Linked DNA regions of Homo sapiens: regions 2 and 3 are each linked to region 1. The links are contacts of gene promoters, found by promoter capture Hi-C in blood cells and fetal thymus (Javierre and others, 2016). All regions are on one chromosome and are shown on one strand. The core of a region is centred on a gene start or on the middle of the fragment in contact, and the rest is flanking DNA. Distances in the headings are between cores, read along the strand shown. Region 1 holds the start of KCP (kielin cysteine rich BMP regulator). Region 2 overlaps SMO (smoothened, frizzled class receptor). Region 3 has its middle 8.9 kb from the start of SMO.

Region 1 (4,862 bases), core at 1,636-4,135:
GAATCAATGTTAAGAATTGTTCTGGCCAGGCCTGGTGGCTCACACCTGTAATCCCAGCACTTGGAGAGGCTGAGGCGGGCAGATCACCTAAGGTCAGGAGTTCGAGACCAGCCTGGCCAACGTGGTGAAATCCTATCTCTACTAAAAATACAAAAATTAGCCGGGTATGGTGGTGCACACTTGTAGTCCCAACTACTCAGGAGGCTGAAGCGTAAGAATCACTTGAACCCAGGAGGCAGAGGTTGCAGGGAGCTGAGATTGTGCCACTGCACTCCAGCCTGGGTGACACATGGTGACTCCATCTCAAAAAAAAAAAAAAGAAAGAGAGAGAGAGAAAGAGAGAAGAAGGATGGAAGGAAGGAAGGAAGGAAAAGAAAGAAAAAAAAAGAAAGGAAGGAGGGAAGGAAAGAAGAAAGGAAGAAAGAAAGAAGAAAGAAAGAAAGAAAGAAAGAAAGAAAGAAAGAAAGAAAGAAAGAAAGAAAGGGAATTGTTCAGATAAGAGCTCTATTTTAGGCTCCCCCCTCCAAGCCTAACTCCTTCTCTCCCTCCCACTATGAGAAGCCCTCCTTACCCAATGCAAACCAGCACTGTCTCCATGGTACCTGTTCTCTGAGCTCCATCACTGCAGCCTCCAGTCGCCCCAGCCACTCTCGCAGGGGGTGCCACTGCTCCTGGGAGTTCCCAGCAAGGACTGAGGAATGGGCAGTTGTCTGCTGCCCAGGGGGCTCCCTGGGGACAGCCCCACCTGAAGGGCACAAGAATCCCATGTGGGCCTGAGGGTGAGGGGCTGGCCTGGCCACATTTTCTGGGTTCTGTCTTCTGACCCACAGGGGAAGGGGGTCATCCTGTGCACCCTGCCCTCTCCAATTGCCCACCCACCATCCAGGGCCGGGAAGCCAGCACAGGCTGAAACGCAGGGGAAGGCCACAGACATGCGCCAGGTGGAGCTGCTTTCAGGGGTCTGGGGTCTGGCTGAGAGTCTTTTCAGGGAGAACATGAGCAGCCCCCATCCCCTGACTCTCTGCACCTGTCAGAAAGGCCACAACTTTTGGAGAATGTGCTCAGGGAAGGACAACTGCTCCCGCCCCCAACCCTGAGCACGGTTTTCCAGGCTTGTGACAGGGGTTCCTGGGGGCTCCCACATTGGGTGGGGTGGGCTTCAAAAGTGGGACTTGGCTGCATTTTCTGAAGGGTGTGAGAAATGTGCTGGCAAGGCCCCTGCTAACTTTGAACACACCAGATCCAGTGAAGACAGCCTGTCCCTGCTTCTAGAAGACACTATGTCCAGGAAAGAGGGACGGGGCACCTCTGAGCTCTGGCCTGGGGTTAGGGGCGGCCACTTTCACCTTTTCACTTTGATCCTTCTCCTGCAGCCCAGAAAGTAAAGGCAGGAGGGGAAGAGGCAGACATAGGTCCCTCCTCCAGGCAGGGATGGGCAGGGAAGTTGAGGGTCTGGAGCGGAGGCAATAGGAACAGAGAGAGGAGGAGGGAGAGGGATGGGTCTTTCCCACCATGGCAGCTCATTAGTGAGGCCAGGCCTGGAGTGGCTTAAAAGGGTTTCTCACAGACACTAGGCCTGTGAGACAGGGGAACAATGTCACCCACTGTCACCATCAAAGGCAGAGGGGATTCTAGGCTAAAATTGAACTTGCTTTGTCCCAAGTTCCCTGGCTTGGTTAATGCCATCACACATACCCAGTTACTTAAGCCAGAAAGCTGGGGCTCAGCTCCCCTATTTTGTTGCCTGAGTTGTCCCCTAATACATCCCCCCCTTCTCCTCTCTCCACCATCTCCATTCAGAAGGCTGAAGACAAAGCGTCCCTGCCTCCATCTGTGCCCCTTCTCTCCACTCGACCTTTCTGAATCACACAGCCGAAGTCTCCCAGGAGCAAGTCCCGCTGGGATGGATCACAAGCACCGCCCACCTTTCCAGCCCCGCTACTTCTGGCTTATATCAGGGATTCTAACTCAGTTCCCGCACCCTGGGCGAATACTGGCCCTCAAACCCCAGGTGCCCTTTCCCATCTCCGTCCCTCTACTGGGGATCCTGTCACCCGGAATGGCACCCGGTCTCAGTCCTTCCCAAGCACACAGAGGGCGGCCACGATGGGCGTCTCAGCATCTGAAACCTTCTACCCAATCTAGACTCCCGTGGGGCCTCATCCTGCTGCCCAGGGCCCCTCCTCCCAGGCCACTCCTCCAGTTCTGCTTAAGTAGGCAGGCAGGATATGGGAGCCCGGGAGAAGCTGAATCCTCTGGGACCCCTAGGTGAAGCTAGGGCCAGCCTCGCCTGGAGAGACCTGCAGAAAGAGCTCCGAGTGGCACAAACTTGGCTGGTCCCCAAGGAATTGTCCCGGGTTCCCCTCTTAGCCTCCCCTGGCCCCGTGCCGGCACCGAGCCCTCCATTCCCGCCTGTCCTGCTCCGGGGAGGGCCAGACACAGATGCAAAGTCAGCTTCCACAGCGGGCCCCTTTTCTCCCCCTCCTTCGTCAAGACAAATAATTAACTTCAGACTCCCAGATGCCAGGGCAGCCGCACTCTCTCCCGCCGCCGGCTGCAGGAACCGCCCCCCTCTCCTGAACCCCCTGCTTTGGCCGTGGTCTTCCCCACCCTGCTCGCTCCCCCGACGGGGAGGACGGAGCTGGCCAGGGAGGCGCGCGAACCTCAGGCAGGGCTAAGAGCAGAGCCCCCAGCCCCTCTCGGCCCCCTCAGGCCGGGCTGATAGGAGGGAGGGGGCGCACCTGGCCGGACCCCAAGCCTCCCGCACCTGGACTCACCTTCCGCGCCCGCGGCCAGCGCCAGGGCCCCGAGGTGCAGGAGAAGGGACAGCGCAGCGGCCCCGACCCCGGCCATGCTAGCTCCGCCTCGCTCGGCTCGCCGTCTGTCGTCGCGGCTCAGCAGGCGCTGGGGAAGGCGGGGTGGGGACACACAGGCCGCTCCCACCCAGGCTTTGTTCAGGGAGGGCTCAAACCCCCCACCGCGCGCGCCTTTCCCATGCACACCTCCACCCGCCCCGGGCCCGGCCGGTCCTGACCCCAGAGAGCAGCTCCAGCTCGCAGGAAGCCCAACGGGGGTGTAGGCCTTGTCTCCGCTTAAGATCCAGGAGGAGACCCTGAAAAGAAAATAAACCCAAGTCCACCCCTCTCGGGATCCTAGAGAGTCTCCCTGCCCTTTTAGGTTACTCCATCGCCCTAGGGTTTCCAGATCGATTTTTCCTCTCTCTCACAAGTTTACAGAAGAAGCAGACTGAGCTGGGTTTAGATCCCTGCTCAGCCAATTCCATGTGGCCTTAGACCACTAACTTCTCTGTGCCTCAATTTCCCTATCTGTAAACTGGGGATCACCACATCTACTTTATAGACTTGCAGTGAGCATTAAGTGAGATTATATAAGTAAAGAATTTAGAGTCGGTAGAGAGATGGTAAATGCTCAGTAAATAACAAATAATAATAATAAGAACTCCTGATCTCTGAAATCATGGACACGACCAGTGTTTTCCTCTCTCCCCTATAAGTTTCTTTCCTGAACTCCACTCAACACCCCTACCCACCCCAGCAGTCCCAGGCTTGGCCCCAAATGCCAAGGCCGCCCTTCACTGGCTGGTCTCAGCCCCATTTCCCACTCCTGAGCTCAGGCCTGGCTGTGGGGTGAGCCTGGGTAGGGGGCAGGGCTGGGCCCTGGGCTCAGCAGGCAGAGGGGGCCAAAGGGAGGAAGTGAGGACAGCCGTCCCTGTGGGCCCACAGGCTGGGAAACTCCTCCTTGAAGCTGGGAAGCAGAGGGTTGGGTCTCACAGGCGAAGCTCACAGGCAAAAAGGAACATTGAGGGCGGAGCTGTGAACCCTTCCAAAGCTCTCCCTCCCTGTCATAAAGACCAGAAGTCGGAAGCCACCCCTCCCCCTAGACCAGGCAGGGACTGAGGTCTCCCCAGCCCACTCTCCACCAAGCTTAAAGCTTCAGTAAGGAGACGGCAGCTTCTCTGCCCCAGAGTCTGGGCCCATAGTGGACCTGAGCCTTTGCCACAGGGGGCAGGGAGGCTGCAATGCCACGCTAAGACCTGGCCTCAGTGCCTGGAGCTGAGGTCACAGAGGAAAGCCAGGGCCAGCCAGCCAGAAGAGGAACAAGGAAGCGGCAGCACTATTCCTGGCAGGTTTAAGGAAGGTGGCTTTCATTGACCGGGTGCCTCTGGAAAGCAAGTCCTCTGAGGGGCTGGGTAGTGGGACGGTTCAGAGCACAGATTCTGGCAGGGTTGCCAGGGCGCATCCTGGAGCTCTTGCTTTCTGCTCTGGGGCCTCTGGCTGGTCACTTCACTTTTGGTGGCTGATTTTTCTGAACTGTGACTGGAGCTCTAACAGCACCCACCTCATGGAGTGTTTGTAAGGATTAGTAATGCATGGTGCTTGGCACAGAGGTATGAGCAATTTTTACTTCCCTTATGAAGAATGGGGGCACCTCCATCCCCATTTTACAGAAAGAATCAGAGAGAATCAGGGTGAGCAGCTCTAAACCACACTGGGAGGATGCACAGGGCTTCCCTCGCCCCACAGTCCCCTTCCAGTCCCTTGTGTCTTAGCCTCTGCCACTGAGCCTGGCCCCAGTCGGCCCTCATATCACATTCCCAGGGAGGGACACTGTCCTGACACAGAAAAGGTCCTCCAACCCCTGGGGTGCGGTGGGGTGGGGAGGCTGGGCCTTCACTTCACCCCCAAGGCAGGTGTTTGTAGTGTCTGATTCTGTGTGTGTGTGTCTGGGTGTGGCACATTTGTGTGTGTGTGTGTGTGTATGTAATGTGTGTTTGGCTGGAGGTGGGGGCTGAGGCTGGGGAGGCACTTTTGGGACTCAAGGGACCTTGACTTTGAAGGGGC
Region 2 (4,862 bases), core at 807-3,306, 300 kb after region 1:
GCTCATCTGGAGGCGTACCTGGTGCAGGTGGGCATGGCAGCCAGCCCCTCCTGCCCTGCCCGCCTCACCCTCAGCCTTGGGACCCCATCTTTAGGTTTTGTCGGGTCCTGCCTCTAGCACAGCCTTGGTCAGTGGTTCACCGCTGCCCCCTGGTGGCACCTTCTGTCCTTGGGTGGCCTGATGCCTGGGCCTGGGCCTGGGCCAAGGGCAGAGCCAGCTGCCATCACCTTTTAAGAGCGGAGTGATTGGAGGGCTGGGCACACAGGAGCTCTGCATTCTGGCCCCACTTCTTTGCAGAGAAGGCCTCTACTCCTGAGTCCTTGAAGGACTTGAGGCCCTTGGGAGCCTCCTTCTCTGGAAAGAATGGCATCGCTGGCCCTTCCCAAGATTTGATGGGAAGTGGCAGCTTCTTCACGCTCCTTCCCTATCCCTTCTGCTCTCAGGTTGACTGGGCAGAGTGACGATGAGCCAAAGCGGATCAAGAAGAGCAAGATGATTGCCAAGGCCTTCTCTAAGCGGCACGAGCTCCTGCAGAACCCAGGCCAGGAGCTGTCCTTCAGCATGCACACTGTGTCCCACGACGGGCCCGTGGGTGAGCCTCACCCCTCCTCTACCGGAGCCGCCTGGCCCCGCGCTGCCCATGTGCTAGTCTCTCCCAGCCTGCTGGGGGCACACAGATTATTTGGAAGACCGACTGTGAGGAGCAAGGCGCTCCCTCCATCGCTCACACACCCATTCTTCCCCCGGCCCCTCCTACCCTCTGGGGGGCTCTCCCCTCTCTGTTTCTGCCCCTGGGTCTGCTTGCCGGTGCTTGGGTTCCAAGAAGACTCCCCTCCCTCTCCCTTCTCATAAATTCTCCAGTTGCTCTCCCTGGGCAAGAGTAAGTCAGGGTTCCAAGAACTGGATTTCTGGCCTCCAGTTAGGCCCTTTGGGGACGTGAGGCCCTTCTCTTCAGATTCTGAAGGGGTAGAGATCACCGTGGTTACAGGGTGAGCTTTCTCTGGTGAGCAGGAGGGACTGGCTGTGGGAAGATGAATGGCACTGACTATGGGAGGCACTGCCAGGGACCGGGAAGTCACTATTCCTTCTCCTTTCCTTCCTTCCATTCCCACAGCGGGCTTGGCCTTTGACCTCAATGAGCCCTCAGCTGATGTCTCCTCTGCCTGGGCCCAGCATGTCACCAAGATGGTGGCTCGGAGAGGAGCCATACTGCCCCAGGATATTTCTGTCACCCCTGTGGCAACTCCAGGTATGAGAGTTCAAGCTTCTGGAGGAAGGTGGGGGGAGCACAGAGGCTGGGGGCTTCTGGGACTGGAGTACAGGGGCTGTCGGAGGAGGAGGAAGAGGAAGGAAAGGCCCCAGAGGATCTGAAGAGTGGGGCTGAGGCTCTAAGAGTCTAGAGACCTGGGCCCCAGAACTAACAGGTTAAGTGCTCCCAGGGGAGCGGGGGTGGCATGGACAGAGCCAGGGCCCCAGGCTCGTGTTGTCTCTCCTCCTGTCAGTGCCCCCAGAGGAACAAGCCAACCTGTGGCTGGTTGAGGCAGAGATCTCCCCAGAGCTGCAGAAGCGCCTGGGCCGGAAGAAGAAGAGGAGGAAGAGGAAGAAGGAGGTGTGCCCGCTGGCGCCGCCCCCTGAGCTTCACCCCCCTGCCCCTGCCCCCAGTACCATTCCTCGACTGCCTCAGCTGCCCCGGCAGAAATGCCTGGTGGCTGCAGGTGCCTGGGGAGCTGGGGACTCTTGCCGACAGGGAGCGTGGACCCTGGTCTCCAACCCATTCTGCCCAGAGCCCAGTCCCCCTCAGGATCCATTTCTGCCCAGTGCACCGGCCCCCGTGGCATGGGCTCATGGCCGCCGACAGGGCCTGGGGCCTATTCACTCCCGCACCAACCTGATGGACACAGAACTCATGGATGCAGACTCGGACTTCTGAGCCTGCAGAGCAGGACCTGGGACAGGAAAGAGAGGAACCAATACCTTCAAGGCTCTTCTTCCTCACCGAGCATGCTTCCCTAGGATCCCGTCTTCCAGAGAACCTGTGGGCTGACTGCCCTCCGAAGAGAGTTCTGGATGTCTGGCTCAAAGCAGCAGGACTGTGGGAAAGAGCCTAACATCTCCATGGGGAGGCCTCACCCCAGGGACAGGGCCCTGGAGCTCAGGGTCCTTGTTTCTGCCCTGCCAGCTGCAGCCTGGTTGGCAGCATCTGCTCCATCGGGGCAGGGGGTATGCAGAGCTTGTGGTGGGGCAGGAACGGTGGAGGCAGAGGTGACAGTTCCCAGAGTGGGCTTTGGTGGCCAGGGAGGCAGCCTAGCCTATGTCTGGCAGATGAGGGCTGGCTGCCGTTTTCTGGGCTGATGGGTGCCCTTTCCTGGCAGTCTCAGTCCAAAAGTGTTGACTGTGTCATTAGTCCTTTGTCTAAGTAGGGCCAGGGCACCGTATTCCTCTCCCAGGTGTTTGTGGGGCTGGAAGGACCTGCTCCCACAGGGGCCATGTCCTCTCTTAATAGGTGGCACTACCCCAAACCCATCTTTTGTTCTCCTATATCCTCCTTCTTCTGTTCCATTTCAGTTCAGTTTCAGCGGTGCCAACCTCTTTGCGTTTCCTTTTTGTTGATGAGGACCCAGAGCTGCTGCACACACTCACCTCTAACCCCCTCCCCTCGCTGCTGGGCCCCATCTCCACAGGAGAGACTGGTTCAGCTCTAGGGCCTCAGTCTGGAGTGGGATAGGAGCAGTGAGTGACAAAGCCTCTGAAAGATGCATCATCTCTTCCTCACACCCATTTAGTGGGGGATGGGTCCTCTAGACTTGAGGGGCTACCCTGGGAAGCTGCCGTAGCTTCAGCCAGGCAAGAAAGCTTCCTTCAACCTGCATAGCCGGTGGGTGAGGAGATTCCCACCTTCCATAGCCTCCAAACATGTTCCCAAGGCCCCACTTTCAAGAATCAGACAGCAGGAAGCCATAGATGCTGGCTGGGTTCCAGGTTATGGGGAGAAGAAATACAGTCAATAAAAGGTTTTTGTATAAACTCTTGGTGTGTTTTTCCTTTTTTTTTTCTTTTTCTTTCTCTCTCTTTTTTTTTTTTTTAATTGAGATAAAAGTCTCACTCTATCCCCCAGGCTGGAGTGCAGTGACATGATATTGGCTCACTGCAACCTCCGTCTCCTGGGTTCAAGCAATTCTGCCTCAGCCTCCTGAGTAGCTGGGATTACAGGTGCCTGCCACCACACCCAGCTAATTTTTGTATTTTTAGTAAAGAGGGGGTTTCACCATGTTGGCCAGGCTGGTCTCGAACTCCTGACCTCAAGTGATCCACCCGCCTCGGGCTCCAAAGGGCTGGGATTACAGGCGTGAGCCACCGCGCCCAGCTAGTGCGTTCTTTCTTCTATGGGCTCCGATCCTGGCCTCCTTACCTTGTCTTGGTCCCAATCTTTTTGGTCTTCCCCATCTTCCCGAGGGTGCTCTGAAAGGCCAAGAGCTTTGTGCTAATGTGGCCACGGCTGACAGTCAGATGTCAGGCTGATGGCGCCCTCATGTGCTGGCTGTCCACCTGAGCCAGTCGGCTCTATATGAACAAAAGCTCTTCTGTGACCACGGCTGCCTCGCGGAGCAGTGATCACAAGATAATTGAGCACAGGCATGCAGCTTCCCCTGGGGTGATGGTGTCTGCCTGATGGGAGTGGAGATGGGCAGGACTCCTCGAGGCATTCCTGGACCTCATCTCTGGGGGCCTCTTTCTTCTACCAGGGACGTCCATTGGGCTAGACGCATTCTGATCCACAGCTTCCTCCCCTGGCCAGTCAGGGAAGCCTGTTAGCCCCACTTCCTCCAATGAGATAATCAGTAGAAGACTGGGAACTGGGGTGCAAGGGCTCAGGATTATGAGAGAAGGAGGTCTGTGTAGCAAAGGGGCTGGTGCCCACAGACCTGGCGGGTATTGTGGAGTACAGACCAGGCTTGTTTGGGGAGTACTCTTTTTTGTTGTTGAAATAGAGTTTCACTCTATTGCCCAGGCTGGAGTGCAGTGGCACAATCTCAGCTCACTGCAACCTCCGCCTCCTGGGTTCAAGAATTTCTCCTGCCTCAGCCTCCCGAGTAGCTGGGATTACAGACGTGTGCCACCATGCCCAGCTAATTTTTGTTTGTTTATTTATTTATTTATTTATTTATTTATTTATTTATTTTGAGAATGAGCCTTGCTCCATCGCCCAGGCTGGAGTGCAGTGGTGCCATCTCAGTTCACTGTAACCTCTGCCTCCCTGGTTCAAGCGATTCTTCTGCCTCAGCCCCCCAAGTAGCTGGGATTTCAGGCGCGCACTACCACACCCCACTAGTTTCTGTATTTTTAGTAGAGACAAGGTTTCTCCATGTTGGCCAGGCTGGTCCCAAACTCCTGACCTCAGGTGATCCGCCCGCCTTGGCCTCCTGAAGTGCTGGGATTACAGATGTGGGCCACTGCGCCCGGCCTAATTTTTTTTTTTTTTTTGAGACAGAGTCTCCCTGTCGCCCAGGCTGGAGTGCAGTGGCACAATCTCGGCTCACTGCAAGCTCTGCCTCCCTGGTTCATGCCATTCTCCTGCATCAGCCTCCCAAGTAGCTGGGACTACAGGTGCCCGCCACCACGCCCGGCTAATTTTTTGTATTTTTAGTAGAGACGGGGTTTCACCATGTTAGCCAGGATGGTCTCAATCTCCTGACCTCGTGATCTGCCCGCCACGGCCTCCCAAAGTGCTGGGATTACAGGCGTGAGCCACTGCGCCCAGCCAGGAGTAGTCTTTGAATGCTGCTCATGTGATGAGGACACCGCATTTTGACCATGGCCAGATTCCAGGAGAAGGGGAAAGGGAATACTAACCCACGGATTGT
Region 3 (4,862 bases), core at 1,267-3,766, 270 kb after region 1:
ATAATTTCTTTGAGCGCCATCCGAGTTGTTGCGTGTATCAATAGTTTGTTCTTTTCTATTTCTGAGTATTATTCCATGGTATGGATAAACTACAGTTTGTTTAACCACTCACCCATTAAAGGACATTTGGTTGGTTTCCAGTTTTGAGCTATTACAAATAAAACTGCCACGACCATTTGTGTACAAGTTCCTGCGTGAAAATAAGCCTTCATTTCTCTTGGAGAGATGCCCAGGAATGTGACTGCTGGGTCGTATGGTATATATGTTTTTTCCAGAAACTGACAAATTGTTTTCCAGAGTGGCTCTATCATTTTATGTTCCCCAGCACTATACGAATGACTCAGTTTCTCCGCAGCATTGCCAGCATTTGGTGTTCATCACTACTTTTTTTTTTTTTTTTTTTTAGACACAGTCTCACTCTGTCGCTTAGGCTGGACTGCAGTGGTGTGATCTCGGCTCATTGCAACCTCCGCCTCCTGGGTTCAAGTGATTCTCCTGCCTCAGCCTCCTGAGTAGCTGGGACTGCAGGCATGTGCCACAATGCCCAGCTAATTTTTTGTATTTTCAGTAGAGACGGGGTTTCACCGTGTTAGCCAGGATGGTCTCGATCGATCTCCTGGCCTTGTGATCTGCCCGCCTTGGCCTCCCAAAGTGCTGGGATTACAGGCATGAGCCACCGCACCTGGCCCACAATTTTTTATTTTAGTCATTTTGATCAGCATGTGGTAATATCTCATTATGGTTTAATTTGCATTTCTCTAATGGCTAATGATACTGAACATCTTTTCATGGGTCTATTTGCCACCTATATATTCTCTTTGGTAAAATGCCTGTGCGTGTCTTTTTCCCGTTTTCTAATTGGATTGTTTGTTTTTTTAAGTACTGTTTTCAAGTTCTTTGCGTGTTCTAGATACAAGGCTTTTTTTGGACATGCAATTTACAAATATCTTCTCCCAGTATTTAATTTGTCTTTTTATTCTTTTAACAGTGTCTTTTGCAGAGCAAAAGTTTCAGATTCTGATGAGATACAATTTGTCAATTTTTCCTCTTCCGGTTTTGCTTTTTATTTTTTATTTTACTTTTATTTAACTTCTTTAGAGATAAGGTCTATGTTGCCCAGGCTGGAGTGCAGTGGCTGTTCACAGCTGCAATAATGGAGCACTGCAGCCTTGAACTCCTGAGCTCAAGTAATCCTCCTGCTTCAGCCTTCTGGTAGCTGGGACTACAGGTGTGCATCACTGTGCCTGGCTCTGGGTTGTGCTTTTGGTATCAAGTCTAAGAACTCTTTGCCTGGTATGAGTCCTGAAGATTTTCTATGTGTTTTTTAGAAGTTTTATATTTACATTTAAGTGCATGATTTGTTTTGAGTTAATTTTTGTTTAAGGTGTGTGAGGTTTACATAGAGTTTTATTTTATTTTTATTTTTTTGCATATGGATATGTAATTGCTCTAGCACCATTTATTGAAAAAGTTCTCCTCCACCATTGAACTGCTTTTGCTGCTTTGTCAAAAACTAATTGGCCATATATGTGGGCATATTTCTGGGTTCTCTATTCTGCTACATTGATCTATGTGTCTATCTTTCTACCAGTACCACATTGTCTTGATTGCTGTAACTATATAGTCAGCCTTAATATCAGCCAGCGATTCCTCCCACTTTAATCTTTGTCAAAAATTGAGCAAGGCCTTTCACTTTCCATATTAGTTTTGGAATAAGCTTGTCTATGTCTACAGAGAAACTTGTTTTCTTTCTTTCTCAAAACTTGAGATTTTGATAGGAATTTTGTTAAACCTAGAGGCTTAGGGAATCAACCTAGGGGAAAGTGACATCTTTGCTATGTTTGATCTTTTGATTCATGAACATAGTATGCCTCTCCAAGGATTTAGGTTGCCTTTGATTTCTTTCATCCCCATTTTATAATTTTCATCATATAGATTCTTTATAAATTTTGTTAGATTTGTACTTAAGTATTTCATTTTTTTTTCTTTCTTTCTTTCTTTCTTTCTTTTTTTTTTTTTTTTGAGACAAGTTTCACTCTTTTGCCCAGGCTGGAGTGCAATGGCATGATCTCGGCTCACTGCAACCTCTGCCTCCTGGGTCCAAGTGATTCTCCTACCTCAGCCTCCCCAGTAGCTGGGATTACAGGCACCTGCTATCATGCCCAGCTAATTTTTGTATTTTTGTAGAGATGGGGTTTTACCATGTTAGCCAGGCTGGTCTTGCACTCCTGACCTCAGGTTATCCACCCACCTCGGCCTCCCAAAGTGCTGAGATTACAGGCATGAGCCATTGTGCCCAGTCAAGTATTTCATTTTCTTTGGAGCAGTTTGTTAGGAATGCCTTCTTGAGAAAGGGTATTTGAATGGACCTAAATGAGAACATAAGAATAAGCCTGAGTGCCAAGATCCTGAGGCAAGTGCTTGCTTGGTGTGTGTAAGGACACACAGCAAAAACTGTACCCATTAATCAGTAAAAAGGACAGCATGTTCAAGGTGGTGTGAGCAAATGAGATCCAGGAGGTTGCCAGGGGTTAGCGGGACGTTGGTGAAGTCCTGATGAGAAATTGAAATTTTACTCTAAGTGTGATGAAATGCCATCAGAGTGTTGAACACAAGAACGATATAGTCAGACATATTTTAGAAGGATGACCCTGGCGCCTGAATGCAGAATTGGTTGTAGGAGGGTAAGGGGAAACAGGAAAGCTGTTAGCTCTTGGAGTGGCCCAGAGGACAAGTGACTGTAGCTCAGAAGAGGGTGGCAGTGTGAAGGGGACAAGGAGTAATTGGAGTCTAGATATATTTTGAAGGTGTAGCTGTCAGGATTTGCTGATGACTCGGTGTGAGATGTTAGAGAAAGAGAAGAGGCATATATGGCTCCAAGGATCTTGGCCCGTGCAGCTGGGTGAACAGTGGTGCCATTTACTGAGAAGAGAACTACATTCTTCAGTATGAAAACAGAACTGTCAGCCAGCACAGTGACCTTGCACCTGTAGACCCAGCAATTTTGAAGGTTGAGGTGGTGAGGGGGTATCATTTGAGCCAAAGAGCTTGAGAGCAGACTAGGCAATATATGACCCCATCTGAAAAAAAAAAAAAAAAAGAACTGTCACTACCCAGAAAAGACCTGAAACCTAATATCTCAGTTTGCAGTCACAGACTGGTATGGGATAAGATTACCTTTCCCAAACCAGCCACATTTCTACAATGTTGGCAACTAGTTGGAATTCCAGAAACCACTGAGATGGTACCATAAGATGGATGTTGGAGAAGAAAGAAAAGGTAAGTGAAACCAGTAGTTCTTAAGCACGTAAGAACCAAGCTTTTCCATGTTACTTCGCACTAATCTTCATTAGACTCCTTACAGCTAAGTAAAAATACACTTGTTTTTTCCCTTTTTTCTTTCTTAAAAAATTGTAGTAAAGTATATCTAACATAATATTTATTATTGTTACTATTTTTTGAGGCAGAGTCTTGCTCTGTCTCGGCTCACTGTAACCTCTGCCTCCTGAGTTCAAGTGATTCTTCTGCCTCAGCCTTCCAAGTGGCTGGGACTACAGGCACATGCCACCATGCCTGGCTAATTTTTGTATTTTTAGTAGATATGGGGTTTGACCACATTGGCCAGGCTGGTTTCAAACCTCTGACCTCAGATGATCCACCCACCTTGGCCTCCCAAAGTGCTGGGATTACAGGCATGAGCCACCGTGCCTGGCGTCCATATTTATTATTTTAAGTATTTGTAAATTTACAGTTCAGTGGCATTAAATATATTCATGATGTTGCATAACCATCACCATCTATAGCCAAAACTCTTTCATCATCCTCAACAAAAACTCTGTACCTGTTAAACAATAGACTCCCTTTTACCACTTTCCCCAGCCCCTGGAAACTTCTATTATTTTCTATTTCTATGAATTTGCCTGTTCTGGGCACCTGAAATCAGTGGAATCACACAATATTTGTTCTTTTGTGTCTGGCTTATTTCACTAAACATATTGTTTTCAAGGTCCATCCATGTTATCCATATATCAAAATTTCATTCTTTTTACGGCTTAGTAATATTCCATTATTATAGATATACCACGTTTTGTTTATCCATTCATCCATTGATAGATACTTGGGTTACTCCCACCCTTTAGCTATTGTGAGTAATACTGCTGTGAACATTGATGTACAAATATCTCTTCAAGTCTCCACTTTCAATTCTTTCAGATTACATATACCTAGGGGTGGAATTGCTGGATCACATGTTAGTTTTATGTTTAGCCTTTTGAGAAACCACCAAAATGTCCTCCACAGCAGCTGCTCCATTGTGCATTTCCACCAGTAATGCATGAGGGTTCCAATATATCCACATCTTCACCAATACTTGTTATTTTCTCTGCTTGCTTTAATTATGATCATCCTGGCTGGGCATGGTGGCTCACGCCTGCAATCCCAACACTTTGGAAGACCAAGGTGGGCAGATCACTTGAGGTCAGGAGTTCAAGAGCAGCCTGGCCAACATAGTGAAAACTCCATCTCTACTAAAAAAAAAAAAAAATTAGCCGGGCATGGTGGCGCGCACCTAGAATCCCAGCTACTCAGGAGGCTGAGGTAGGAGAATTGCTTGAACCTGGGAGGCGAAGGGTGCAGTGAGCCAAGATTGCACCACTGCACTCCAGGCTGGGGGCAGAGTGAGACTTTGTCTCAAAAAAGAAAAAAAATCTATAATCATCCTAATAAATGTGAAGTGGTACCTCACAATGGTTTTGATTTGCATTTTCCTTATGGATAATGATGTTGAGCATCTTTTCATGTGTTTATTAGCTAGTTGTGTATCTTCTTTGGAAAGATGTCTATTCAAGTCTTTGCCCCCTTTT

What was found. Contacts are between HindIII fragments. The CHiCAGO score rates a contact against its expected background, and 5 or more counts as called.
Region 2: a fragment that was not itself captured here is called in contact with the fragment with the promoter of KCP in region 1 in 1 of 17 cell types (naive B cells); the score reaches 5.4 in naive B cells.
Region 3: a contact is called between a fragment that was not itself captured here and the fragment with the promoter of KCP in region 1, in 1 of 17 cell types (naive B cells). The highest score is 5.0, in naive B cells.

Annotation. Positions count from the first base shown.
Region 1 is chr7:128,907,824-128,912,685 of GRCh38, forward strand. KCP (kielin cysteine rich BMP regulator) reads right to left here and starts at 2,886. Exons shown (of 40, transcript NM_001366122.1): 1 at 2,778-2,886; 2 at 603-745. The coding sequence starts at 2,853. It also overlaps the pseudogene LOC392787. The HindIII fragment of the contact is 11,148 bases long and covers 1-3,942 here.
Region 2 is chr7:129,210,522-129,215,383 of GRCh38, forward strand. It overlaps SMO (smoothened, frizzled class receptor), which reads left to right. Exons shown (of 12, transcript NM_005631.5): 9 at 1-27; 10 at 444-592; 11 at 1,115-1,249; 12 at 1,503-3,024. The coding sequence ends at 1,930. Among named protein-coding and RNA genes, the nearest start is that of AHCYL2, 12 kb to the right of the region's middle. The HindIII fragment of the contact is 1,589 bases long and covers 1,263-2,851 here.
Region 3 is chr7:129,177,273-129,182,134 of GRCh38, forward strand. No RefSeq gene overlaps it. Among named protein-coding and RNA genes, the nearest start is that of SMO, 8.9 kb to the right of the region's middle. The HindIII fragment of the contact is 1,602 bases long and covers 1,716-3,317 here.